Regions from separate parts of the Homo sapiens genome. Here all the other regions are linked to region 2. The links are contacts of gene promoters, found by promoter capture Hi-C in blood cells and fetal thymus (Javierre and others, 2016). All regions are on one chromosome and are shown on one strand. The core of a region is centred on a gene start or on the middle of the fragment in contact, and the rest is flanking DNA. Distances in the headings are between cores, read along the strand shown. Region 1 overlaps AGPAT5 (1-acylglycerol-3-phosphate O-acyltransferase 5). Region 2 holds the start of ANGPT2 (angiopoietin 2). Region 3 has its middle 55 kb from the start of MCPH1-DT. Region 4 overlaps AGPAT5 (1-acylglycerol-3-phosphate O-acyltransferase 5). Region 5 has its middle 27 kb from the start of MCPH1-DT. Region 6 has its middle 19 kb from the start of MIR4659B. Region 7 overlaps XKR5 (XK related 5).

Region 1 (3,640 bases), core at 25-2,524, 180 kb before region 2:
AGGAACAGAACAGCCCAGCACTGGGATGGGCAGACCCCGGGGCTGGGGCAGACAAGAGCTGCAGAAGGCCCTGCAAGCTGCAGAAGGGCCAAGGAAAGAGAGATTAGAAATCAGCCAAAAACACAGGTTTAGAGCGAGTGAGGAGGAGGGAGAACCAGAGTCAGCTATATGGTGTGGGCGAGCCAGTGCCATTTCCAGATGAACTTCAAGGTGGTAAAAGCAGAGCACTGGACCCAGCACAGGACCTCGAACCAAGCACAGGATCCCAGACCAAGCACAGGACCCCGAACCAAGCACAGGACCCCGTACAGGAGAACAAGATCCCCCCAAGCCTCCACAAAGGACTGCAGCCCTGCCAACACCTTGATTTCAGCTGAGTAAGACCCATTTCAGACTTCTCAAATGTAAGAGAAGAAATCTGTGGTGTTTTAAGCCACCAAGTTTGTGGCCCTGCCTGAGAGCAGCCACAGGGAGCAAACACACCTTCTTAAGAGCGAGAGTGCCGTTACCACACAAAGCTGAGCACTAGCTTTCTTGTTTGCTATGCTTTCTCAGAAGTTGGCTTCAAAGTATTCATTTAATTTCTACTTCTTTGATTATGAGAAAGAATAAACATTTGTTCAAGTGTGTGGGTCATTTGTATCTCTTGAATTTCTTATTCATGCCCTTTTCCCATTTTTCTAGTTTATGTCTTTTCTAATTATGAAGCACTTTTGTAATATTAAGTATATTAATATCCTATATTATAAAATATTATTAGCTTGCCATTTGCCAACTAAATTTGTTCATATGATGTTTGAGACATAAAAATAATTTTTATTCAGTTAAGTCTACAAAGAAAAAAATTGCTTTGTAGCTTATTCCCTTTGTTCTCCTGTTTTGAAAGAACTCTCAAATCTCTACAATCGCCAGTGTTATTCACCCTATGAATAACATGGAAATTCTAGGTATCTGGTTTGCCATTATAGACACATCATTAAATTTCTGTTTTCTTTTAAGAGAGTTCAAAAAGCTTAAGTATGTCACCTTCGCTAGCAACTATGGTTTTAACCATGGCAATTAAAAAAAAAAAACCACCATAGGGGCTTACTTTAATGGGTCCAGGTGGCAGATTAAGATACATTTAATTCCACATCCCTTATAACCATTAGAAAGCCAAATACCTAAAACAAGTCTAAGGAAAATTAGTTAAAACAAAACCCTTCGAACAGCTGAGAAAAGTTTAAATATTACCACAGTGCCTGCACTTCTGCAGGACCCCATCTGAACAGCTTCTTCCTCCATGTCTAAGTTTCCTATAAGAGGTATGCAACTGCTATCAATTTGTTCTTTTTGTGAATAAAACTTAGGCAAAAAAACTGAATGATGGAGTTACCAAGACAAGAAATATGAGTGTATGCATGGAAGGATAAATTCTATCTTCAATATGCTGAGTTTGAGACATCCTTTTGGGCCAGTCAAGCGAAGCTCTCTAATGGACAATTGTACAAATGGGTCCAGAGTTAGGCAGAGAGACATGGAGGGGAGGAAGCTTTTGCGAGTCATCAGCAGTCAAGGAAACGATGGCTAAAGCCATGGATTTAGAGGAAGGCCACCATGAGAAACAAAAAGTGAAATTAATCAAACACCAAAACCTGACACTGGAAATAACACATGTAGCAGGGAGAAATGAAGCAGAAAGAGGCTGGAAAGGAGGCTAGGAAGTAATCGCCAGAGAGTTGGGAGGATAATGGAGAACAGCCCCACAGAAGTCTAGGGAGAGAATTTCAAATCAGACCAAAACAAATTGAGGGCAGAGTGAGTACTGGAAAAAGTGCTTACAACAAAGGTAGACTACAGATTCGAGAGTGGTTTTTGTTTTGTTCTGTTTAATAAATGTGAAAAGGGCAAAAGAGACAATGGCATTGCAAAAGAGCAACTGAAATGACAGAACGTCATGTCTATTAGACAGAGGAAGCAATGAAAGTCAAAAGAGAGCTGGCAGATGGGGAGACCAACTGAACCCTCCTATTCTGAAACACTCCTTACTTAATAGGACATGTGTTTAAAAACAAACTGGCATTTTTTAAAAGTACTGTTACAAATGATGTCATATACCTATGACATATCTGCTCTTGTAAGCACCTTGTAAAAACTCCCCCTTATTTTTAATTAAACTAAAATTAAATAAAATTAAAAATTAGTTTCATGCACTAGTCACATGTTGAATGCTCAAAAACCACATTGGTAGGAGCCAGCACACTGGACAGAACAGATGAAGAACTTTACCATTATTGCAGAAAGTTCCATTAGACAGCACTGTCATAGGCCCTGCTGTAATGTCACCAACAAGGTATTTGCTCAGTGAGTGACTATCAACATATGGAGATCACACACTAAATCACAGTCAAGCTTCAAAGACACCTCTAAGAACATAGCATAGCCACTGTTTTCTGTATACTTCCCAATTTGGTTAAATTGCATAGCTTATTGGTGTACCAATTATTCAATTTTCTAAAATATGGATATTAAGAACATTACCATTGTTGAAGACATTAACAGCTTCCAAGCACTGTGGACCAACTTTGTGTAACTTCTCCAATAGAAACTTGACATATTTTCTAATCTAATCCTCACACAGATTTAGATCTACTTATAAGGCATATGTTCTTTTAAGAGATGAAGAAGCAAGCTCAGCAACATTACACAACTTCCAAGTTGCAACCATACAGCTAATAAAAGTACGAGTTTGGACTCCAACTTAGGTCTGTCATCTTACAAAACAGAAGCTCCATTACATATAACCCATACACTGTAGAAAAAGCTTCCATCTACATAATCATGTACTTAGATAGATTTTAAATAAATCCATGGCACAAGAATATGTATCGTAACAAGCACTTCAACTTAATTTCTCAGATATATGTAATAATAGCATGAAAGTGAATTAAGGAGAAGAAACTTCATTTCCTAAGAGATAATATGTACACTAATTCAAGGAATGAATACATTCATTCCTTCAACTGTAAAACAAAAGTATCTTTTCCAGGAAGAAAAACTAAAAATGTTATTATCTTTGAAAATTATTTGTTCAAACACTCAAATTTTTACTTACCACGTTGGGCAGCAAATGCCTGACTAGCTGAAAGGACTTTTGTTTGCTCTGGATTATACCTTGTACCTTCTGGAAAAATCACAAGATACATCTGTGGGACATAGAGCAAATTTGGTTTATTTTGTGTGAGCTTTGTTTTTGTTATTGTTAACCTAAAAAAGCTAAACCTACTAATGCTAACAGAGTATTTCCTACAGTAGGAGAAAATGTATATTTATTTACATGTGACCTTCGTTTCAAGAGGGGCAAACAAAATGCAACAATTAAATATGAACATAACGTGAACTATATTTTAAATGCAGTGCTACATTCATTGGTAGGTCAGCCATGAAGAATCTAAAAACATTTCTAATTATATGCTAATAATTCACTAATTAAAAATAGGCCATGAAACGCTGACTCATACAAAGCCTCAATGAGTTTTTGCCCTTTCAGATCCTGTAATACGTCATTTTTAGAAATACAAATTTTAGAAATCAGTATCGTTAAGTACCAACACTAAAAAGTACCTCATTTGATGAAAATCATATAGTAAATTCCCACCAT
Region 2 (3,655 bases), core at 359-2,858:
CAGTAGCAAGATCTAGGGCTGGGTTTAATAAAAATGTAGTTCTGAGTATTGTGGCAGCAAATAAAAAGAGCTGATTTCTGAGGATGAGAAAGTCACAGATATTCACACTGTTGTTCGTTAACTATTCATTGATAAGGGAAAGGCTGTCTTTCGGTTAGAGCTTAGTAAAAAATAAAGATCTTTTATGGGTAGATGTGGTCTGTTAAGTCAGTGTACCAGCTATTCAGCGCTCACTGGGAATAATAAACCTTGTACCTTGAGAGATAAACCGCAGCAAAGGCAGGGGGCTTTTTCCCTATGTACACTTGGGCTGCTGAGTTAACATATTATTAATCTCTGAAGTATTAAGTTTTAGTTGTTAAAGGAAGTGACTTGCAGAACTTACAGAGCCATAGGATTGAAGGTGAAAAATCTTGTGAGTGCACCCCTTGAATTGCACAGATGAGGACATTAGAGCTTAATTAAAACAGGGAAGTGACTTGCCCGAGTCTAATACCAAGGGGGACTAATGTAATTGATAATGTGTTACAAAATGCTGAGATGTCAACAAATTCTGACACAATAAAGAAGTTTGTGGGCCAGGCATGGTGACTCACACCTGTAATCTCAGCACTTTGGGAGGCCAAAGGCGAGTCGATCACAAGGTCATGAGTTTGAGACCAGCCTAACATGGTGAAACCCTGTCTCTACTAAAAATACAAAAATTAGCCGGGTGTGGTGGCGTTTGCCTGTAATCCCAGCTGCTCAGGAGCCTGAGGCAAGAGAATCACTTGAACCCGGAAGGCGGAGGTTGCAGTGAGCCAACATTGCCCCACTGCACTCTAGCCTGGTCGACAGAGCGAGACTCCGTCTCAAAAAAAAAAAAAAAAAAAAAAAGTTTGTATTCCTCTTTCTACACAGGCACTTAAATTCTAATTTCTCTATTGTAATGTAATGAACTTAATCAGTACAGTGTATTTTTAGAGTGAATATCCAAGTGGAGTTTTTTTAAAGAATAAAGGTCAGAGCTCAGAAACTGATGTTTCTAACGTGACTTAATAACAGATCTTTCTATCCAACTGTTCGGAAATGAAAATCTTTTGTAACTTGGCTAGTGGTTCAAGAATCAACTAAAATCAATGAATCTATTTTTCCCTCTGAAAAGGCACACGTTTACAGGAGCCAAACTTCTTCCTCTTTATTTGTAATAACAAAAATAAACCGAAGTCCTGACCTATTTGTAATATTTTTATTCCTAAAGGAAAAAACAGGAACTTTCATTGTACTTCAACATTAAAGTTATTACCTCAGATATTTTGCCAGCTTAGCACGGCAAAAATCAGTTTCAGACAAAAGAGATCAACTGCTCTCTCTAGGAAATACTTAATTGGGGTGGTGCCTAGGAAATGCCCAGGGGTCCTGTAACAGATCGGTTTTTCCCAGAGGGTTTCTGCAGCATGGGTCCTGGTTGGAGGGCAGGCATTCTGCTCTGATTTTTCCTGTTGCCTGGCTAGTGACCCCCTACAGGAAGATAACGGCTAAGCCAGGAGGGCGGAGCAGCCCACTACACATGTCTGGCTGCTCTTATCAACTTATCATATAAGGAAAGGAAAGTGATTGATTCGGATACTGACACTGTAGGATCTGGGGAGAGAGGAACAAAGGACCGTGAAAGCTGCTCTGTAAAAGCTGACACAGCCCTCCCAAGTGAGCAGGACTGTTCTTCCCACTGCAATCTGACAGTTTACTGCATGCCTGGAGAGAACACAGCAGTAAAAACCAGGTTTGCTACTGGAAAAAGAGGAAAGAGAAGACTTTCATTGACGGACCCAGCCATGGCAGCGTAGCAGCCCTGCGTTTTAGACGGCAGCAGCTCGGGACTCTGGACGTGTGTTTGCCCTCAAGTTTGCTAAGCTGCTGGTTTATTACTGAAGAAAGAATGTGGCAGATTGTTTTCTTTACTCTGAGCTGTGATCTTGTCTTGGCCGCAGCCTATAACAACTTTCGGAAGAGCATGGACAGCATAGGAAAGAAGCAATATCAGGTCCAGCATGGGTCCTGCAGCTACACTTTCCTCCTGCCAGAGATGGACAACTGCCGCTCTTCCTCCAGCCCCTACGTGTCCAATGCTGTGCAGAGGGACGCGCCGCTCGAATACGATGACTCGGTGCAGAGGCTGCAAGTGCTGGAGAACATCATGGAAAACAACACTCAGTGGCTAATGAAGGTAGGAAAAAAATCCATCTGTCTTTGTGAACATGCTATTAAGATCAGCTTGGCAGCAGCTCAGGTTTTAACAACCAAAAAAAAAAAAAAAAAAAGAAGGAGGATGAAGAGGATTAGAGCTGGAGAGCGGGTTGCTGGTACCCTCAAATGAAAGATAATTTCTTTTATTCTATCCCAGGGTGTGTGGGTAGTCCCCGGGGTGAAAATAATTATTTGGAAAGAATGCCAGAGTCAATACAGAAAATCTCTAAAGTTAGAAATCTTTATTAACAAGGTAGAGGAAATATACTTCCCTGCACAACTTGTGTGCCGTTCTGTTTGTTTACATCGTTTAAGCTCAGTAACACCCATCACCAGGGAGGCTCTCAGCTGGTTGCAGGCAAGTGAGGGAAGGCTGTGAGCCGCAGCAGCCCGTGAGCCAGAGAGACCGTGACAACCATGCTGATGACCGAGGCATAACGGATGGAGTAAAGTGCTTTACCAATTTCCTGAATTTATTTACTAAAATAGGTTGTGACTCTTGGTAAACGAGAGGAAATTAAATAAAGCAGACCTTATGTTTCTCAGAATCTCAGGGCCCTACCACTAAGGGCTTGCCGTCTGTAAACAGGGGCACAGTTCCCAAGCGTCCCAGAGGTATTCAGCACTGCAGCCCCCGTCAGTTCCAGCAACCGGTGCGGAATGCGTCCCCACGTGGGACGGTTATGTTCAAGTCATGCCACGACAGGACGGTCTGTCTGACAGTTTGTTCTTGGGGTGATTCCACTGTTTCACAGATGATCCCACTGTTTCCTAGAGTTTTTATGGAGACGTAACCAAAATAGGATATTGAAAGCTCTGTTTTTCTTTCATAAATAATTTTTTTTCACATGTAAACATGGGAGCTATTTATACAAAATCCAAAACGAACCTGGAATTTTCTTTATATGGACTATATATATTCTAAAGGAAGTTTAAACAAAATGCATAAATTAATTGTTAAGTAGCATGATGATGCCATTACATCACAATGCTTACATGGCAGGGAATGTGATTATCTAAAGCTATGTAAAGTCTTTTAAAAGTTGGTGAGCCTCATTTGACGCATGACCCTAGAAAAAGCACAATTATTTTCTCACTCTTTCATTTCACCATAAACCTTTTGTTAGGACACCTTATCTGAATCTCAGAACGGATCTTGGAGCCTAATCGGTGCTCCTCATTACCTCCCCTACCTTCAGAGAGGAAACGACTAAGTTATTATTTGAGTCATGAGCTTAAATGAATGAATGTGAATGAATGTTCCCAGCACCACTGGTTACTGTGTCAAGAGGAGTCATTTAAAACAACAAAAACTTACCAAAATGACCTATCAAATGTAGATTTCATGTGACATAAAACTCACTAGCAATGTCTTTTTAAGCTCCTGGCTAAGCGCTCCAGTAAGTTTCCCTCCTTTCCCAGGTCACTG
Region 3 (3,609 bases), core at 613-3,112, 210 kb after region 2:
TTTTATAAAGATGTTGGATTTCATGTGAGGGCAGCCAGTTCTTATCCTTGTGTATTTATCTCCATGGCTCATTCCTTATCCAGCTGCTACTGAAAAGTCCTGGAGTTCAGATGGATGATTTTGTAAGGTATAAGTAGCCACCCTTAGGGAAAACAAGGCAACTGATAACTGTAGTGAATATGGTAGCTGAAAGACCACAATCTATTTAGCCAACTTGTGTCCGACAAGGGCAAGTAGACAAGCTTTTCAGTGTTTAGAATAACAGGGGTCAAGGTTACTTACTCAAATCGTCTCCTGGAAAGAACACAGACTTTGGACTTAGAGCTGCCCTCAGATCTTGGTGTTGACACTTGCTGCCTTTAATAAACTACTTATTCTCTTAGAGCCTCAATTTCCTTGTGAAAATCATAAAACAGGCTAAGATTTTTTTATGTTTACTATGCATAAGGAGCTGTACCTTGTAATTATCTTTTTTTTTTTTTTCTGAAACGGAGTCTTCCTCTGTCACCAGGCTGGAGTGCAGTAGCGCGATCTTGGCTCCCTGCAACCTCCGCCTCCTGGGTTCAAGAGATTCTCCTGCCTCAGCCTCCCGAGTAGCTGGCACTACAGATGCACGCCACCACACCCAGCTAATTTTTGTATTTTCAGTAGAGACGGGGTTTCACCATGTTGGCCAGGATGGTCTCAATCTCTTGACCTCGTGATCTGCCTGCCTCAGCCTCCCAAAGTGCTGGGATAACAGGTGTCAGCCACCGTGCCCTGCCCCAATTCCACTAGTTTAAGTAAATTTCTGACAAAGACTATATTTATTCCTGGATGCGTCTTTACAGCAAGCAGAACAGATGCTTGTGCAAGCTCCGCCTCCTGGGTTCATGCCATTTTCCTGCTTCAGCCTCCCGAGTAGCTGGGACTACAGGCTCCCGCCACCATGCCCGGCTAATTTTTTTTTGTATTTTTAGTAGAGGTGGGGTTCACCGTGTTGGCCAGGATGGTCTCGATCTCCTGACCTCGTGATCTGCCCACCTTGGCCTCCCAAAGTGCTGGGATTACAGGCGTGAGCCACCGTGCCCGGCCTGTACTTTGTAATTTTCATGTTATGTCACAGTCAGTTCCCACAAAGTCTATATAAGCTGATAAGTGTATCCCATTTTTCGGATGAGGAAACAAAGACCCAGAGGAACTAAATGACTGTCCCAAGTTCTTGCTATTAATAAATTACAGAATCAGCAATGGAACTCAGGTCTTCCGGCTCTGAAAACCGTACTCTGAAGACTGCATTACACTACTTCATTCCCCAAACTGATAAAAATAAGATCAACTTTGAGGGGATTTAAAATAATATGGTGATATATGTTAAATTTACAAAGCAGTGCCTGGCCTAAAAGGGTATGTTCAATAAAAGTTATTATTATTGATTACTTCAGGAAAATCATGAATTGCACATAATATTGAACAAAATGATGATTGCTGTTTATTAAGCACAATACGTGCCAAGCTTTCTGTTAAGTGAATATATGCACTATGACATTTACTGCTCATAAAAACTCTATTATGCACATTTTTAAAATTATCTTCCTTTTTAAAATAAACAAAAATTGTGGCTCAGAGAGATCAAGTGCCTTGTACAAAGTCATGTTACACAGCAGTGGGAATCAGAACCAGGCCTGTGGATTCCAAAGCCCAGCTTTTCTGTTTGTTAGTTTTTATATTTAACCACTTTGCTGTGTGGCCTTCCTAAAGAGGAAAAGCTTCTGACCCCCAAAATGAACCTGAATTTTGGAACAGGTACGTGTAAATTTGTGTCAGAGGGCCCATTTTAGGTAAACATACTTGATGATGCAGATGAAATATAAAAACACTCTCAGAGATGAGACAGCTGAGCAGGAAAGGAAATACTTTAAACCAGGAAATGGAGAATTAATTCATCTGGAGGAAAAATAACTCCAAATATATATTTGATGAAACACAAAAGCTTGCAAGCAGTGTAGAGAATCTTGTTAGAAAGATTGATTTTGGCTTCTTCCCTTCTGTTCATTGCATCTGAATAATCACTACAATCTCATCTATAAATGGTAAAATTCCTAAATCAGGTGTAACCGAAATCTCCATTTTGTAAACTCTAAATTAATTCCATAAGACATTTTAGTGCCATGCAAAGTTATTGACGTCGTATCTAATTCTATTTGGTCTTTCCATCAACCATAGCGTTTTTCTTGCTTCTAGAGATAAATGCCATTATAAAATATTTAGAATTCTATAGTGTCTCATTGGGAGTTTCACTTGAGGGCGGTTGCCTCCCAGGGAACTGTGTGGTGCTCTGATGAACCCCATCTTTCTATCTGTAGTCACTGCACAGCTCCCCAAGCTCCCCCTGGGGTGGTCCCCTCAGCCGGAAATGTCCCCACCTCCTCCGGCCTCTGCTTATCAGCCTGTGCTCGTCATTCAGCATGAAACCTCCAGGTCACGTCTGCAGAGAAGCCATCCCAGAACTACCCCCAGTGGAAAGTTCCTCTGTTACCTGCTCTGTGGCAGAGCCCACAACATAATTAATAACATGTCATGTGACAAAGCTTCATGTCATTTTCCCTGCCTTAAGGGCAAAGGCTGTATCTGCCTCACTTTCTGCTGTATCCCCAGAGCCTGGCCAGCTTTATTTAGGTTAAAATATAAGAAATCACTGGTATTTCACTGTCCTTAGTCTACAAAAGCGGCAATGTCATATGAGTCAACCAAATACTTAACATTTAAAGGATGCTTTTTGCATATTTTATGACTGTAGGAATATTTGCTGCAACCTATTTTAGATTTCAGCCCATCTGCCTCCAGCCCTATCTCCTGTTTCTTAAAGAGGAAGATAGGGGGTCTTGGGGTGGTGGTTAGACTATATAGAGGACAAATAGTCTTCCTCCTAAAGTTGCCTCCAAAGTTATTTTCCAGTTTCTGGAATTGAACAACTAAGGGCAGTAGGTAATTTTGGCAAGTCCCCCAGCAATCAGTCAAATTGACCTGATGCTGAAGTCAGGGCTGGAGCTTCATTAAAGCAGAGAAAGATTAAGTGACTGTGGGTAAGCTCCTGAATTCTCTGCACCAACTGGAGTAGTAAATAACCGATCACATGTCTTTGTTTCCTCCAATATTTTGGAAAGAAAAAGAAATTGCTAATTATTGATTTCCCCCCTGAAATTTCACTGATCAATAGAAACTTGAGTGATAGCCAGAGTTCACTCTTTAACTGTGGCCAGTCTCAACAAGCATCATTCATTAAGATGACTGCCACAGTCATGCTTCAAACCAGGAAAAAATAACCTCAAATGAGAAATTACTGAAGGTCACAATGAGGTTACAGACACATAAGAAATGGAGACGTAATCGTGATTGCAAAAGGACCTAGGACTGTGGACAATTCTGGGTATTGCAAAGCTCAGGTTGCCTGATGATTTGGGGGGAAAAACAACAATATGGGAAGAAACTTAATCTCCACAGTGTCCTGATGTTCCAGAAGCGAACTTGCCGAAGTCAAGCAAATATAACCAGACAATGTTACTGATAAAAAGATATTATCGGCCGGGCGCGGTGGCTCACGCCTGTAATCCCAGCACTTTGGGAGGC
Region 4 (3,913 bases), core at 1-2,500, 160 kb before region 2:
CTTTCTATACCTCATCTATGGTATAAGCAGTAATAAAAACCACAAAATCATGAAGAGACAGCTGACAGGAAGAAAATTTAAAAAAAGCCACAGGCATAAGTGATTTCCCTAAGAGTACTATATTGATCAGGTTGTTTTTAGCTTAAGAGTACTATATTGATCAGGCTGTTTCCAGCTTTGAGCTTCTAGGTATTATATTTTTTAAAGTAATAAAAATGCAATTTAGGAAGTACGCATCAAAAGTAGCTACAGGTTTGAAAACATAAGAAGTGGGATTTTTTTGGAGGGCTGAATTATTTGGAGAATTAAAAAGTACCTTACCCAATGACAATTTCCTGATTCTGCTACTGTGCTACAGTTATATTAAGATGTCACCATTGGGAAAAATATTGCTGACAATGTACTCTTTTTGCAAATTCTTGGGACTCTAGAATTACCTCAAAATACAAAGGTTTTTAGAAGTATCTTCACCTAAAGTATATACTGCACTGTTTTGAAGACCAGTTCTCTGCAATTCCTCTGATGGAACAGTAGCAACTAGAATTAAACCAAACCCATTTGAAGAAGGAAAGGAAGAGCAGACACTAGAAATGACGAGCATAGTAAGGAAACGAGTACTTACATACCAATACAGCTTTTCTGCAGCTTAGCAATCAAAAATGTAAAATGTATACACACTTCGACCCACCAATGCTACTTCTAGAAACATCACTTACAAAAAGAATGAATACACTCTTTAAAGAGCTACACAAAGGAAAAACAAAGCAAGCAAGTAAGAAGATAGCTTACTTACATCCAACAGAGGGAGAAGGTAAGTTTAGGAAAATTCATAGCTTTCAAGTTTCTGACTTTCCAAAAAGTAAAATCACAAAAATACAAGAACAGGTGTAATATCTGCACAGAAAATTGCTGTTTTAAAAAACCCACTTCATTTAAATATAAGAACGGTATTTTGAATGCCCATGTGCCATCTGTAGAAAAACCTATGTTTCATGCAAATGAAATACAAACCTGTGCTTTGATGATTTGCTAAATATATTATATTTTCTTTATTTTTTGGCAAATCTCCATATAGCAATATCTAAAAGATAAAACAAAAAAACATTACTTTGATATTTTAAAACATCTGTAATATACAAAGGAAGACAATGTGAAGAAACTGACGAATGATGTTGTGAATATTTCCATCCATGATTAACAAAAATTAGATTTCTCACAGGAGCCTCAGAGATCATAAATAGCGCAGGTACAGAAAGCAGTTATGTATAGTACAGGTTAACGGTAATAAATTAAAATAGAATAATCAATATCCTCATGAGAAAAATATAGCAAGCATTCATTGATTGCTAACAATATATAAAACACTGTTCATAAGATATATCTTCCTTCAAAGAGCCCACAATCAATCTAGTAAAAGAGACAGACATGTCCACAGGAACTGTAATGAGACATAACGCAAATACTATGAAAATATGGTACCTTTTTAAGGTTTTAAATTTGTTTTTTCTTTTTTCAGGACACTAAAGGGTACACAACCTTTTTTAATTTTAAAGAACTGTAAACTGCAGAGCAGGAGTATTATTAGGTAGGATTCTGGCAGATGAGATGAAGGAAAATGTTCATGAGAATAAGAACGAATGGAAGCAGTAACCCTGGAGGCCTGTTGGGAACATGGGCAGTGTCGCGGCTGAGGAGCAAGGAGACCAGAAGGGTGGCTCTGAACTGGAATGGCAGAAGTCTTTTGAATTCCATGCTAAAGATTAAAACTTTATTCTGTAAGTATGAGAGAAACATCATTCCAGTTTATTTTTAAACTGGGCGGTAGGCACACAGGTGTTCGATGTACCTGTATTAGTCCTTCTGCTGTTTTGTGTGTCTTACATATTTTAGAATAAATTTTTCAAGAAACTGGGAGTATACTTGTAAAGACTTAAAAGGAAATGGCTGCTAATGGTGCTAAGTTTTTATTCTGGGCATTTTTGTTTCTGCATCTTGTCATCATGGATTATGCAAGATTATAAATTAGCTAAGGCTTTTTAGATCTATCTTGTCCATAAGGATTATCTTTTGGTCATGACACTATTTATTAATATCTTAAAAAGAGAAGAAAGAAAGGGGCAATTAACCCAACAACTTTGCAGACAAATGCACTTAGATAACATAAAGTTCTGGAAGCCAGGGATGTGACAAAGGTTTCCATTACTTTCCTTAGAAACTGCACAGTGCTATGTATGTAGTATGTTTAAACATTTGCACAATGAGTTTTTATTCATAAAGTTTATCGATGACATAAATGAGTAATACCAATAGCTTGATCTGTTCAGAGTTAAAAGTGACATCGTGGCTTGTGAGTAAATCCCCATTCTCTTACCAACAAGCCAGAATTGCATCAAGACCATTGAGTATGCACTGATTTAAAAGTTTTGCACAGCCCAGGCATAGTGGCCCATGCCTGCAATCCCAGTGCTTTGGGGAGGCTGAGGTGGAGTGGGCGGGCGGGGTCGGTAGGGGCAGGGAGGGAAGATCTCTTAAGCCCAGAAGTTCAAACCCAGCATGGGCAGCACAGCCAGACCCTGTCTCTACATAATTATAAAAAGATTAGCCAGGCATGGTGGTGCGCACCTGCCCACACTCCTTCAGGAGCATCCAGAACACACTGCACACCTAATGACAAGTCCCCAGCCCCTTAGGGACTATGAGCTCCTCAATGGCCTGATCAGTTTTCTACCCCAAGAGCCTAGCACCAAGCTGGTTTTTAACAGATGTTTACTGAATTATTTACACTTTTGTCACCAGTAGGCAAAGCTATACCTCATTTTCAAAATAAAGGTAGTTTCAGAATAAACATAAATAAAATAATTAAAGTGCACCAGTGACTTTTTAAAGGCTTCATTCTGTAAATCTAGTACTCATTTTTTAAATCACATTAGTTCCGTCTACAAATGTACCCTGCAAATAATTTGTCACTTCAAAATAAGGCACAAGAAAACATACGGCTTTTCTTTTTGTTTTTCATAACTCTTTAAGTAATTTTAAGTTCATTATGATTGCTTGTTCATGATAATTTCAGGTTCATCCACTTTTTAAGAACTCATCAGACATCCCCTACAGAAAAAAAAATTTCTCTTTTCATTTATTAATTCAGAGGTAGCCAATAAAAATGATTTCTGAATAACTATCTTCATCACAAAGGACAAACTAGTTATTCTGCTTTCGTCAAAAAAACTTATTTATCTTGCACACACTGGCTTTCAGGAGAAGGCCTGAATTAGATGCGGACCAGTTTCACCTCGCCTTCATCACATCTGTGTTGTTTTTAACTTGCTCCCATGACATATAAACTGCCTATTGATTCTTTTTTAATCTTAAAAACAGGTAGTCATACGGCATCTAAAGTAATCACATGCTTAACACCTTAGCCTCCATAACACAATGTCACAGAGACATAAATATACAGCATTCTTTGTTAAAAAATATATATTCTTCATTTATCTCAATCATGTCCATTTGTCTTCCACATGCAAATCTTGAAACATGATTTTTTAAAAAAAACTTTTGCTGTTGTTAAGTATAGATGATGCTGTTGAAAGAGATCAGAGAATATGCCACACCCAAATATGCTACTTTGGCATAAGGATTATTTTGAGCTGAAGGCACCTGAGACACAGCAGATACAGGAAGAATTCTCTGCCCTTCCCCTAACTGCCTAAGGCAGGACATAAATTTCCCTGTGGAAAGGTGATATGAATTTCCATCTGTAAAGGTGTTTCCCTGTCCCTTATTAGGAGACCAGAAACTGGCAAAATAAACCTGCATAGCAAACCTTATTACTATACATTTCCTAGTCATCTTCCCACAATTTACCACCCCTGGGAGCTGAAATCCTCTTCTCCTTTGACTAGTCACTTTTTCA
Region 5 (3,756 bases), core at 1,201-3,700, 180 kb after region 2:
GCCTGAGTGATGAAAGGCCATCTTCATTTTCTCTTCTGGGGCAGAAGCACTGAACAGTTCAGCTGTGTTTTTAAATTTGTGGGTTTTTTTCTTTTAATTTCAATTTTATTTGGTGGTGGGTTTCATCTATATTTTCTAGAAGAGAAATTGCCTAGATAACACTCAGGCTAATATAAACTCCCTTTAAATTCTTTTTTTTTTTTTTTTTTTTTTTTTTGAGACGGAGTCTCGCTCTTTTGCCTAGGCTGGAGTGCAGTGGCACAATTTTGGCTCACTGCAACCTCCGCCTCCTGGGTTCAAGTGATTCTCCTGCCCCAGCCTCCCGAGTAGCTGGGACTACAGGTGCCTGCCACCATGCCCAGCTAATTTTTGTATTTTTTGTTAGTAGAGATGGGGCTTTACTGCGTTGGCCAGGCTGGTCTCAAACTCCTGACCTCGTGATCCACCCATCTCAGCCTCCCAAAGTGCTGGGAATATAGGTGTGAGCCACCGTGCCCAGCCAACCCCCTTTAAATTCTAATCAAAGGATCAGGGCAGCAAAAATTTTATTGGTTTGAATAAACTGTAATCAAAAATTGTTTACTGGTTACAAATTTTTTTTTTCTTGAGATGGAGTTTCACTCTTGTTGCCCAGGCTAGAGTGCAATGGCACAATCTCAGCTCACTGCAACCTCCACCTCCCAGGTTCAAGCAATTCTCCTGCCTCAGCCTCCTGAATACCTGGAATTACAGGCATGCACCACCATGGTCAGCTAATTTTGTATTTTTAGTAGAGACGGAGTTTCTCCATGTTGGTCAGGCTGGTCTCGAACTCCCAAGACTTCAGGTGATCCGCCTACCTTGGCCTCCCAAAGTGCTGAGATTACAGGTGTGAGCCACAGCACGTGACCTCTGGTTATAAAATTAATGAGGAAATTATCAGAATGGAGACTATGAAAGTTCAATCTAATCAGGTCCTGATATTAGACACATTGGATTACAGACCACCCTTATGACCTCATTTAACCTTAATTACCTCCTTAAAAGTCCCATTTCCAAGCAGTCACATTGGGGTTAGGTCTTCAACATACAAGATGCGGGAGGAGACACAAATCAGTCCCTAACCCCTGCCTATTAGTATTTTCATTTAGTTCATGACCTTGGAGTATATATTTATATTTTTGTACCACAAGACTAGCATGTGAAATATTCAGTGACTACCATCCTTCAATATACTTTAACGCCAAAACTATCTGGGGAGACAGTAATCCCAGCACTTTGGGAGCCTGAGGTGGGCAGATCATCTGAAGTCAGGGGTTCGAGGCCAGCTTGGCCAACATGGTGAAACCCTGTCTCTACTAAAAGTACAAAAATTAGCCGGGTGTGGTGGTGCAAACCTGTAATCCCAGCTACTCGGGAGGCTGAGGCAGGAGAATCGCTTGAATCTGGGAGGTGGAAGTTGCAGTGAGCCAAGATTGTGCCACTGAACTCCAGCCTGGGTGACAAGGAAGACTCTGTCTCAAAGTAAGCCTGACCAAGAATGATGGTGATTGTCCCCACTCCCAACCCCAATCTATTCTTACTGCTGTAGCCAGAGTGGACTTATACAAACACAAATGAGATCACATCACTCCTCTGTTTAACGTCCCTCAATGACTATGCTATCCTCAAGGAATATGCAGATCCTTACTGCAGCCCGTGAGGCACTGCATGACTTTTTCCTCATGGATTCTCCAACCTCCCGTCTTGGCTCTTCCTCATGTCATTATCTACTCAATGTTCACCTCTCTTGCTCACTGCAGGGTACCCAAGCCTCGTAAGTGCTTGTGAATAACAGAGGTTCACTAAATTTTGTTGCATTATTGAATGATGAGAAAAGAAAAGGCAAAGCCACTTAGAACAGAGCTCTGAAGGGCTCCAAACTTTATGAGTGAGGTGGAGGAGGTATAATAGGCAAGGGATTGTAAGAGGGAGTAGCCAGGAAGGTAGGAAGCAAACCAGAAGGGTGGTGGTGAGGAAGGCAAGAGAAGGTTCTGTTTCACAGAGAGGGAGGAGGTCACAATTTCAGATGTGGAAGGGTCAACGAAGATAAGGATGAAAAATGTTCATCATTTAGCTCTCACATAGAGGGGAACAATACATACTGGGGCGTTTCAGAGAGTGAAGGGTGGAAGGAGGGGGAAGATGAGGAAAAACAACTAATGGGTACTAAAGTTAATACCTGATTGATGAAATCGTCTGTACAACAAACCCCCATGATACAAGCTTACCTATGTGGCAAACCTGCACTTGTACCCCTGAACTTAAAAGTTAAAGAAAAAAAAATTGTTCATCTTAAACTTAGTGACAAGGAGGCCACAGGGGGCTTTATTGAAAGCAGTTTCAAGGGATTGAAAAATGTAGGCAGCAGATTTCAGGGTGAGAACCTTAAGTTTTCGCAGTGTGGTGAGAATGACTCTTCTTCACATGGGGATCAATCTTCAGACCTTAGCCCTACAATTTACTAAGCATGAGCTTCAGCAACATACTTAATCTTTGTATTCTTCATCTGTAACTTGAGAATAATAATGATACCCATCTGCTGCGTTGATGGGAGAATTAGAAATAATGAGTCCCACAGATTTAGCTCAAAGATTCTAAATAAATGGTAACGGTTGTTAAAATTTAGTTAAGCTTTTGCATTTAAATTTACTATTCTGGGCCAGGCACAGTAGCTCATGCCTGTAATTCCAGCACTTTGGGAGGCCGAGACAGGTGGATCATGAAGTCAGGAGTTCGAGACCAGCCTGACCAACATGGTGAAACACCATCTCTACTAAAAATACAAAAATTAGGCCAGGCACGGTGGCTCACGCCTGTAATCCCAGCACTCTGGGAGGCCGAGGCGGGCAGATCACGAGGTCAGGAGATCGAGACCATCCTGACTAACACGGTGAAACCCCGTCTGTATTAAAAATACAAAAAATTAGTCAATTTTTTGTATTTTGTGATGGCAGGCACCTTTAGTCCCAGCTACTCTGGAGGCTGGGACTCTGGAGGTGTGAACCCAGGAGGTGGAGCTTGCAGTGAGCTAAGATCATGCCACTGCACTCCAGCCTGGGCGACAGAGCAAGATTCTGTCTCAAAAATAAATAAATAAATAAAAATAAAATAAAATACAAAAATTAGCCAGGCATGGTGGTGCACTGTAGTTCCAGCTACTTGGGAGGCTGAGGCAGGAGAATCACTTGAACCCAGGAGGTGGAGGTTGCAATGAGCTGAGATCACGCCACTGCACTCCAGCCTGGCAACAGCAAGACTCTGTCTCCAAAACAAACAAACAAAAAAATTTTTATTATTCTGTGAAAATAGACTTAACTAAATCAATAGATGCTGAAGCATTTTTTAAAAAGCATATCAGCTACATTATGATTAAATCAAGTTACTGTCAACTCACTTGCTTTTCAGTTAGGTAAAACTGATAAAAAACAACAATGTGTGTGCATGCACTTCTGTGTGTTTTACAGGAAACATAAAAATTTTAACAGAATGTATATGTATTTCACAAAGAATTTCTAGAATTGTGTCAGTAGATAAATATACAAATGAATCACTAGTGAAATTATAGTGCTGAAACATAATGGACAAAACAAAAATTCTGGTTCTGATTGTAGGCAAAAATGCTTGGACCAGATTAGCACATTGTCATAATTCTTTTCTCTACTTGGAGCTTTTATGGAAGTCATTGGTGGGTAAACTTTTAAATTTCTTCCTCTATGACTTGAAGTAACTTTGATG
Region 6 (4,088 bases), core at 103-2,602, 200 kb before region 2:
ATATTCTCATATTTGCTTCAGATCTTATTTTTTGATTGTGCTTTTTCTTGAACTCCAAGAATTCCTGGAATATTCTTTGAAATCGTAACTTCCATATCATTTATTAAATGTTTATTGATTATGCCATTTACTTTTTAAAATAATCTATTGACTTCGGACTATAAAATTCAAACACAATTGCTTTAGAAAATCTTCAGGTGGGCCGGGGGCGGTGACTCACGCATGTAATCCCAGCACTTTGGGAGGCCGAGGCGGGCGGATCACGAGGTCAGGAGATGGAGACCATCCTGGCCAACATAGGGAAACCCCGTCTCTACTAAAAATACGAAAAAATTAGCCGGGCGTGGTGGCGGGCCTCTGTAGTCCCAGCTCCTCTGGAGGCTGAGGCAGGAGAATGGCGTGAACCCGGGTGGCGGAGCTTGAGGTGAGCCGAGATCGCGCCACTGCACTCCAGCCTGGGCGACAGAGAGAGACTCCGCCTCAAAAATATAAAATAAAATAAAATAAATAAAATAAATAAAATGAAATAAAATAAAATAATCTTCAGGTGATACTTAATGATATAACTATGATTGAGGTAACCCTAAAATGTTATCTCAAATTATGCCTACTGAATCAGTTAAACAAACTGTTGCTGATTGCCTAATCAGTGCCAGGAATCACGGCAGTTTTGAGACACAAAGGTTGGGGTGAAAGTTCCTCGCCTTTAAGTCATCTTGTACATCAGGTCTGCCCTGTGGAGATATAATGCCATATAGCGAATATTAAACCTTCTAGTAGCCACATTAAAAAAAGGTCAAATTAATTTTAATATAGTTTATTGAGGACAATATGTCCAAAATATCACTCAAATATGTAATCAACATGAAGATTAATGAACTATTTTATTTTTTGTACTTATTTTTCCAAGTCTGGCATTGTACACTAACTTCTCTGATTTCAAGGACTCTATAGCCACATGGGGCTCCGGCTGCCCTACTAGGAAGTGCTGATGTGGAGGGTGGGTTTGTGGCTCACAGGTCCTAACAGAGCAACTGGGGAAGCTGTTGGCTGCATTGCCTTGAGCTCAGTGGTAATGGACGTTGGGGGTGGGGAGGGTGTTGAGCGGGTGAAGATAGAGGGGAAGCAGATGGAGGTGGATGAAGAAACCACCAAGTAGACTTGCTTAGAGAGACAGGTGGTAGGGGTGGTTGAAGATACCCCCAGGCATTGGGCCCAGGTGGCTGGCACAACACCGGGGAACAGCATGCAGAATGAAACTGTAGGATGGGAAGGTCTTTAGCAGCCACGTCCCAGGGGACGCTGCAGTCCAGAAAGAAGAGACCCACTGCTACATACTTGGGACCCGACCGCAACTCTAGATCTCCTGACCCTCAGAACAATGTCGTTGTTCACTGTACCACTCTGAGGCCAAGCTCAGTTTAAGTTCTATTGCCAGTTTTATGTCAGACTGGAGCTGCCAGTCAAGTCATAAAATACACCAGGAACCAAAATCTATCCACGAGCCAGTGAGAGTGGGTGCAGGAATAAAAACCATGTTGGAGAGAACAGAGCCAGAAATTACCAGGTACTTAGACACATGGAGGCATACTTTATATTGGATTTATTTCTAATCTCATTATCTTTCATTTATGTCAACTTCTAGAAACAGAAAGAGGGGAGGAGATATGGAAACAAAAAGGATAAAGATGTTAGTACACAAGAAGAGGGGGTACATCGTTTATGGGTTTTTTTTGTATACTTCATTTTACTTGAAAATGTCTATTTTGCATTTGTTACATGCCCTATTAGAGCAACATACCAAAAACCTAAAATGTAACAAAGTTATTAGCTCTAGTATAAGGCAGAATGCCCTTATGGACGTGTGTGTGTGTGTATGTGTGTGTGTGTGTGTGTGTGTGTAACAAAAGTTGCTAACATTTGCGCACTCAGAATGTGACAGGCACTAATCCAAGTGCTTCACATAGATGATTTCGCTTAATTCTCACAAGCCTGTGAGGTAGGTTCCATCACTGTTATTTTCATTCTGTATTTCAGGACATTGAGGCACAGAGATTAAGAAACTGACTACAAGGCCCGGCACGGTGGCTCATGCCTGTAATCCCAACACTTTGGGAGGCTGAGGCAGGTGGATCACTTGAGGCCAGGAGTTTGAGACAAGACTGGCCAATATGGCAAAACCCCATCTCGACTAAAAAATACAAAAATTAGCCAGGCGTGGTGCCGCACGCCTATAATCCCAGCTACTTGGGAGGCTGAGGCAAGAGAATGGCTTGAACCCAGGAGGTGGAGTTTGCAGTGAGTCGAGATCACGCCACTGCACTCCAGCAAGGGCAACAGATCGAAACTCTGTCTGAAAAAATAAAAATAAAAAATAAAAAACTGACCACAGTCCCTTGCTGACCAGTGGCAGGGCAGGGCAGGGACTCAAACCGAAGTGTCCTGGCTCTAGAATCCATGCCCGTAAGCCCGGCTCTCCATCTACTCCCAGCCACTCCTCCCCAATCTCCTTCCCAAACAAGAAACACTGATACACAGAATGAGTTATGAAGAACCTTGTGTTTTGATCATCTGGACAACAGAAAGCCCCTGTTTTAAGAGAAACACAGTGTGTTACTGATGGTGTCATCAGTGACGTGGCCCTGATGTGCCGCCATGCTCCAGCTCAACTACACCGGAGCAGCAACTGTTTTCACCCTTCTGGATTCAGCTAAGAATCACCGACCATCGAGAACCAGCTAACACCGAATGCATCAGAAAGAGCCAACTTCCACATAGATCCCTTCCTGGGCATATGCTTAGGGGCTCTGCCAAAACCTGAACAAGGCACATGGTAGAGATGACACAGCTCGGGTGCCTGTGCAGTAACGTGTCCTCACAGGAAGTGGTGATGCCTTGCTTTCATTCCCTACTATATCTTTGGCTTCACTACAGTCTTTGTGAAGCTTTCTTCACACCATACACAGGAACCTCTGGAAATAACTGTGCTAAGCTAAGCCCCTAGCACAGCGCCTAACACAGAGCAGGAATTCAAATTTGTGAAGTGAGTGCACAGCTCTCGCTGCCGTTTTAGAACACCTTGGGAACACTACCTTAATCCCAACCTCAGAAATCTTTAAGGAAGATAGCTATTAACTTCTTTCTCATTTTCTACTAGATGACCAAATTCCAACGATCACAATTCTATATTGAAAATTATTTCACAGTAAAACCAAATCAACCAAGGCAAGGAAACAATAACATCATAACATACGTATGGTATTTTACTGATGTATTCATTCATTCCAGGACACATCTCCCAGCTTCTACTTACATTTGCTAAACAGTTTGACACAGAAATTCTTTAGTTCTAGTTCTCTTCAACTGATATTTAATTTGAAAGTGTTCTTTAAGAATCCAAATACATTGGGCCAGGCGCGGTGGCTCGCGCCTGTAATCCCAGCACTTTGGGAGGCCAAGGCGGGTGGATCATCTGAGGTCAGGATTTCGAGACCAGCCTGGCCAACATGGCGAAACCCCGTCTCTACTAAAAATACAAAAAATTAGCCAGGTGTGGTGGAACACGCCTGTAATCCCAAATACTTGGGAGGCTGAGGCAGGATAATTGCTTGAACCAGGGAAATGGAGGTTGCAGTGAGCCGAGATTGAGCCACTGTACTCCAGTCTGGGCAACAGAGCAACACTCCGTCTTAAAAAAAAAAAAAAAAAAGAATCTAAATACATCAGTTCTCTGATCTAAGCCAGGTTCTTTCCTCATCTTTGTTTCCATTATATAAACAAATGATCTCTCACAGTAGTTACTGCTATTTTCCACTCTAGCCAATGATAAAACATGGGGATGGCAGCGGTGGGTGGGAATTCCGGCTTTTCTCCACCATCTTCTCTGCAATAAACTGAAAGACCTTATAAAAGATGGGTGCAGTTGAGGAAAAAGAATAAAGGTGGTCATGGGCAAATGAAAACTGGTTAATTGTCCGAAAACTATCAAGAACTGACCTGTGACCCAGACAGAAAGTAACTCTGCATGTCTCAACAGAGCACAGTATACACGAGCTTGAATAACCAGAAAGATGTTTAGCAACAAATCC
Region 7 (3,957 bases), core at 425-2,924, 250 kb before region 2:
GCTCTGTTGAGAAGTAGGGACTGGATCCTGAAGTTAAGGTGGGGCTGTTTCAAGGTGCATCGGGGAGGAATGGCAAGATGCAATCTCTGGGTGAAGTGGGTCACCCTGACATTGGTGTGGAGGAGAGATTTCAGAGAGAGAATGAAGATAGGGGTTGCCTAGACAGGAGGCATGGGGCCAGAACCACGGAAATGGCGGGAAAGACAGGAGGCAGGTGACGGAGTTGGGACAAACTTAAGAATCTGAACCACCAGAACCACACAGCTGAGGAGTGGGGAGAGAAAGATGCCTTCTGTACTGGCTGCTGGCCAAGGCATTTAGGGCAGAAACCCTGCCCATTGCACACAGAGGGACTGGGAGAATGGATGTTCATAGGATTACGAAGCAGCTCCTCATAATTTTTTTTATTTCTCTCCTTATTTGAATTTTTGAGAGTGAAAAACGAAGCCAATGAATAACCTGGCAAATCTTTTGAAGAGTTTTAGCAAATCAGTATATAATTTAAGTGTTATTTTTAAATAAATAAAATACACAGTATTTAATATAAATATATATTAAATATATTAAAATATATATTAATTATATTTTAATTAAATAAAATTAAATTATTTTTAATTAAATTAAATAATTATTTAATTAAATAAAAATAAATTAAAATATATATTAAATATAAAACACACAGTATTTAAATATATCGTCTTTGAATTATGTCATTTGTTTACTTATTTTAATGAAGACGTATCTTTTTATATTTAAAAATTGGAAAGCAAAGTTAATAAGCTGACCCAGATGGGCGTACAAAGAGCCTTCTGGACCATCTGCCATTTTGACCAGCTGCAGCCACGGGGCCAGGCTCCTTTGTCAGCCTGCGAGCTCCCGTCTCCGGCTGCCACCTGGTGGCCGCAAAGCAATTATTTTAAGGAAACAAAATCCTAAAGTTGTTAGAAAGTTTGTGACCCTAGCTCCCTGGAATTCAGTGGCATCATGAGCTCTGCAGCTATCTTTCATTTTAACACTAATGAGTGCCTGCAGTTAGTGTGAGGATGGAGAAATATGCAAAGTAGAAAATAAAAGTCCCCTCTCAGCCCATAATGACTCTCTAAAGGCAGCCCCACAGCCATTTGAGGGATGCCCTTACATTTCCTGGGCCTTTATGATTCTGCAGACACTTTAATGAGCCACCCTGAGAACAGGGTGGCTCTCTCTTTGCCAGAGAAGGTCTCAGTGGGACATAGCCCTGCTCCTGGGTACTCCTCAGCAGCCTGGAGTCTCCAGTGGGCACTCAGGATGGAGGGGAGGGGGAGCCGCTGCAGACTCACGGGACGGGGGTCCCTAGGCAGTGTGCACCTGACGAGGTGTGGTGCCTCTGTCCTGGGTCCCGCAGGTCATGCTGTTGGAGAACATCATCCTGTTGCTGTTGGCCACCGACTTTCTCCAGGGGGCATCGTGGACCAGCCTGCAGACCATAGCTGGGGTCCTGTCTGGATTTCTGATTGGTAAGTCCCAATGTCACCTTCTTCTCTGCATCCCCTCCCCAACGTATTTTTTTTTTTTACAATGGGCTCAAAGGGTAGGAAACTGAGTTCAGATGTGGTTAACTGGAGACCAAGGAACCAGGCTCACTGCGATGTGGGGGGCAGAGCCATGCCCATCAGAGCATGAGATACTGAGCTCAGCCTCATCTGCCTTGCTTGACTGTGCTCGGAACCTCAAGCAAAGCTGGGGCTATCCCTCTCTACCCCAAAGCCCCCGTCCTCCCCGGAGCTTCCTGCAGGGTTGAGGACGTGACTTCTCTCTCCCCTCCCACCTAGGGGAGCTCCTCACATCTTCCTGACATGGCACCCCCTGCAGCCCATAGACAAGCACCCCGGGAAGTGGGTGCCCTAGCAGAGGAGGAGAGGAAGGTGAGGCACAGAGGAGGTTGAGTCCCCGAAAGATCCAATGGTTTGTAACAGATAGAGCTGAGATTCAAGCCCAGCTCCAGTGCAGGCCTGAGCACAGGCCTGGCACTGTCATCAGCCGTGTTTTATGAATGCATGGCCCCAAGGTCTGTGTCACACCCACGGTGATGACCTCGCTTCCCAGATTGGCATGAGTTCCGCAGGGATTCCGCCCCCCACTTGAAAGGTGCGAACACCAGCCTCCTCTCCCAGCACAGCAGGCTTCCACCACTGTCACTCTCAGGCCTGCGGTGGGACCGTCAAAGCCAGCACCTGCACCTCTCACGTGGGGCCTCGTGCTTCTGCAACATGGGCCAGGACAGAGATTCCCCAGTCCTCTGCAACAACTCCTGCCCTCCCTCCAGAGCCTGCTCTCTGTCACCCACACCCTGAAGAGGTGCCTGGAAGTGGCCTCGGGTTCTTTTCTTGCTCACAGCAGCCGGGGGTTGGATGTGGCCTGTGTGAGTGGCCTGGACCTGGGAAAGGAATGACCTGGACACAAACACTTAGTGAGATGCAGGGGCTGTTCACGGGTCAGAGAAATGTCACACACTGTGGCTTCGTAACAAGCATTTGAGAGCCACAGGCCACCCTGGGTTTCAGCTCTGTTCTTCTTCATGAGACGTCACGGGTCCTCACTTCTTCCAGCTTCAGGTAGCTGAGACAACCCCTTCTTTTTCAAATCAAACTTTTTAGATAATTGTAGTTTTAAGAAATAATACAGAGCTCCCCGTACCCATTACCAGGTTTTCCCCCAGTGGTAATATCTCGCAAAACGGTGGCACAACATCACAGCCAGGATCTCAAAGTAGTACGTCGAGGTGCAGGGAGAACCCTTCCATCACCACGAGGACCCTTCATGTGGCCCCCTTCCTCTCGCCCCTGCCACCTCCTTCCCTCCTGGCAACCATTATTCTGTTCTCTGTTTCTATTATTCTATCACTTGGAGAATGCGTTGTGAAAGTACCACACAGTGTGTGCACCCTGGGGATCGGTCTTGTTCACTTGGCAGAGCTCTCCGGAGAGCCTCCCGGGTTGCTCCTTGCTTTTGATGGCTGAGTCGCATCCCATGGTTTGGACGGACCACAGCTTGTTTCATCGTCGACCCATGGACGGGCATCTGGTTCATCCTTTTTAAAATAATCATTTGAATCGCAGAGCATTGATTTCTAAGCTGTGTGTGTGGATAAATGGCCTATGGGAAACTGAGGACATCGCGCTGCCCGGGTGAGAAGCACCACTCTCACCACATTGCATCGTGGTCTGGGTGTTCCTGGCATATTTCAAGCAATCCTTCCTTCAGGGAGGGGCCATGTGATACTTGGAATGAAGGGGCCTTGCCGGCCGGGAGGTCTAACAACTCATCTGGATTTTCCAGTTCACGGGAGGTATAGCTGAGTCCTGGGGGCAGTGTGGTGGGAGGGAAAATGTCCCCTCATCTACTTTCTGGATTTTAACACTGACTCAGAAAAGATGTCCTACACCACTCCGAAAACCTGTCACACTCCTGAGAGTGGATGCCTGGTTTCCTTCCAGTTCCACTCCAGTGAGAAGACATTTTCACAGCCAGTATGCTGGCCCACGGCACAGCTGGAGGGCAGTGAGTAGGGAGTCCATAGCCACGGGCAGTGAGTAGGGAGCCCATAGCCACGGGCAGCACTCAGCACCCAGGTGGCCACCGGCTCAGAGCCTTGTCTGCCGCTCCTCCTCCGGCCTCTGATGGAGCTGCCAAACCCCTGACTCCCAGCCGACCCTTGGGAATCCTAGGCAGGAAGATTGAACCCAAATTGTAGTCCAAGGAGCACAAGCTTGCATCCAGGCTCCTCCCCTTTTCCTTCCATCCTGGGACCAATATTCACTGAGTACCAACTGCGTGCCAGCCTGGGGATGCCACCAAGAACCCTCAAACCACATGGCCTCTGGAAAGATTGTGTTCACTGAATAAGTGTGCCCAGGACTTCTGTGATCAGGGGCCTTTGTTCATCTTTCCTGGCCTTGGGTGGCTGCTTGTAAAAGA

Evidence for each region. The method cuts DNA at HindIII sites, captures the fragments that hold promoters and counts their contacts. A CHiCAGO score of 5 or more calls a contact.
Region 1: a contact is called between a fragment that was not itself captured here and the fragment with the promoter of ANGPT2 in region 2, in 13 of 17 cell types (naive B cells, total B cells, fetal thymus and 10 more). The highest score is 22.2, in naive B cells.
Region 3: a fragment that was not itself captured here is called in contact with the fragment with the promoter of ANGPT2 in region 2 in 4 of 17 cell types (total CD8 T cells, non-activated CD4 T cells, activated CD4 T cells and 1 more); the score reaches 7.1 in total CD8 T cells.
Region 4: a fragment that was not itself captured here is called in contact with the fragment with the promoter of ANGPT2 in region 2 in 10 of 17 cell types (total B cells, naive B cells, fetal thymus and 7 more); the score reaches 18.1 in total B cells.
Region 5: a fragment that was not itself captured here is called in contact with the fragment with the promoter of ANGPT2 in region 2 in 8 of 17 cell types (fetal thymus, non-activated CD4 T cells, naive CD8 T cells and 5 more); the score reaches 8.3 in fetal thymus.
Region 6: a fragment that was not itself captured here is called in contact with the fragment with the promoter of ANGPT2 in region 2 in 17 of 17 cell types (naive B cells, total B cells, megakaryocytes and 14 more); the score reaches 24.5 in naive B cells.
Region 7: a fragment that was not itself captured here is called in contact with the fragment with the promoter of ANGPT2 in region 2 in 9 of 17 cell types (naive B cells, fetal thymus, erythroblasts and 6 more); the score reaches 11.3 in naive B cells.

Annotation. Positions count from the first base shown.
Region 1 is chr8:6,741,206-6,744,845 of GRCh38, reverse strand. It overlaps AGPAT5 (1-acylglycerol-3-phosphate O-acyltransferase 5), which reads right to left. Exons shown (of 8, transcript NM_018361.5): 5 at 3,095-3,185. Among named protein-coding and RNA genes, the nearest start is that of MIR4659A, 2.1 kb to the left of the region's middle. RefSeq lists enhancers at 2-81, 112-391. The HindIII fragment of the contact is 519 bases long and covers 1,015-1,533 here.
Region 2 is chr8:6,561,198-6,564,852 of GRCh38, reverse strand. It overlaps ANGPT2 (angiopoietin 2), which reads left to right and starts at 1,608. Exons shown (of 9, transcript NM_001118887.2): 1 at 1,608-2,206. The coding sequence starts at 1,919. The region is part of intron 12 of MCPH1 (microcephalin 1); the gene reads right to left. RefSeq lists enhancers at 1,739-2,265, 2,266-2,791 and a silencer at 3,651-3,655. The HindIII fragment of the contact is 4,979 bases long and covers 1-3,655 here.
Region 3 is chr8:6,349,689-6,353,297 of GRCh38, reverse strand. No RefSeq gene overlaps it. Among named protein-coding and RNA genes, the nearest start is that of MCPH1-DT, 55 kb to the left of the region's middle. The HindIII fragment of the contact is 224 bases long and covers 1,751-1,974 here.
Region 4 is chr8:6,722,038-6,725,950 of GRCh38, reverse strand. It overlaps AGPAT5 (1-acylglycerol-3-phosphate O-acyltransferase 5), which reads right to left. Exons shown (of 8, transcript NM_018361.5): 2 at 1,012-1,081. Among named protein-coding and RNA genes, the nearest start is that of AGPAT5, 15 kb to the right of the region's middle. The HindIII fragment of the contact is 7,430 bases long and covers 1-3,913 here.
Region 5 is chr8:6,377,876-6,381,631 of GRCh38, reverse strand. No RefSeq gene overlaps it. Among named protein-coding and RNA genes, the nearest start is that of MCPH1-DT, 27 kb to the left of the region's middle. The HindIII fragment of the contact is 408 bases long and covers 2,247-2,654 here.
Region 6 is chr8:6,762,412-6,766,499 of GRCh38, reverse strand. No RefSeq gene overlaps it. Among named protein-coding and RNA genes, the nearest start is that of MIR4659B, 19 kb to the right of the region's middle. RefSeq lists an enhancer at 2,557-2,606. The HindIII fragment of the contact is 3,191 bases long and covers 1-2,947 here.
Region 7 is chr8:6,813,346-6,817,302 of GRCh38, reverse strand. It overlaps XKR5 (XK related 5), which reads left to right. Exons shown (of 7, transcript NM_207411.5): 6 at 1,385-1,496. Among named protein-coding and RNA genes, the nearest start is that of XKR5, 20 kb to the left of the region's middle. The HindIII fragment of the contact is 4,153 bases long and covers 1-3,750 here.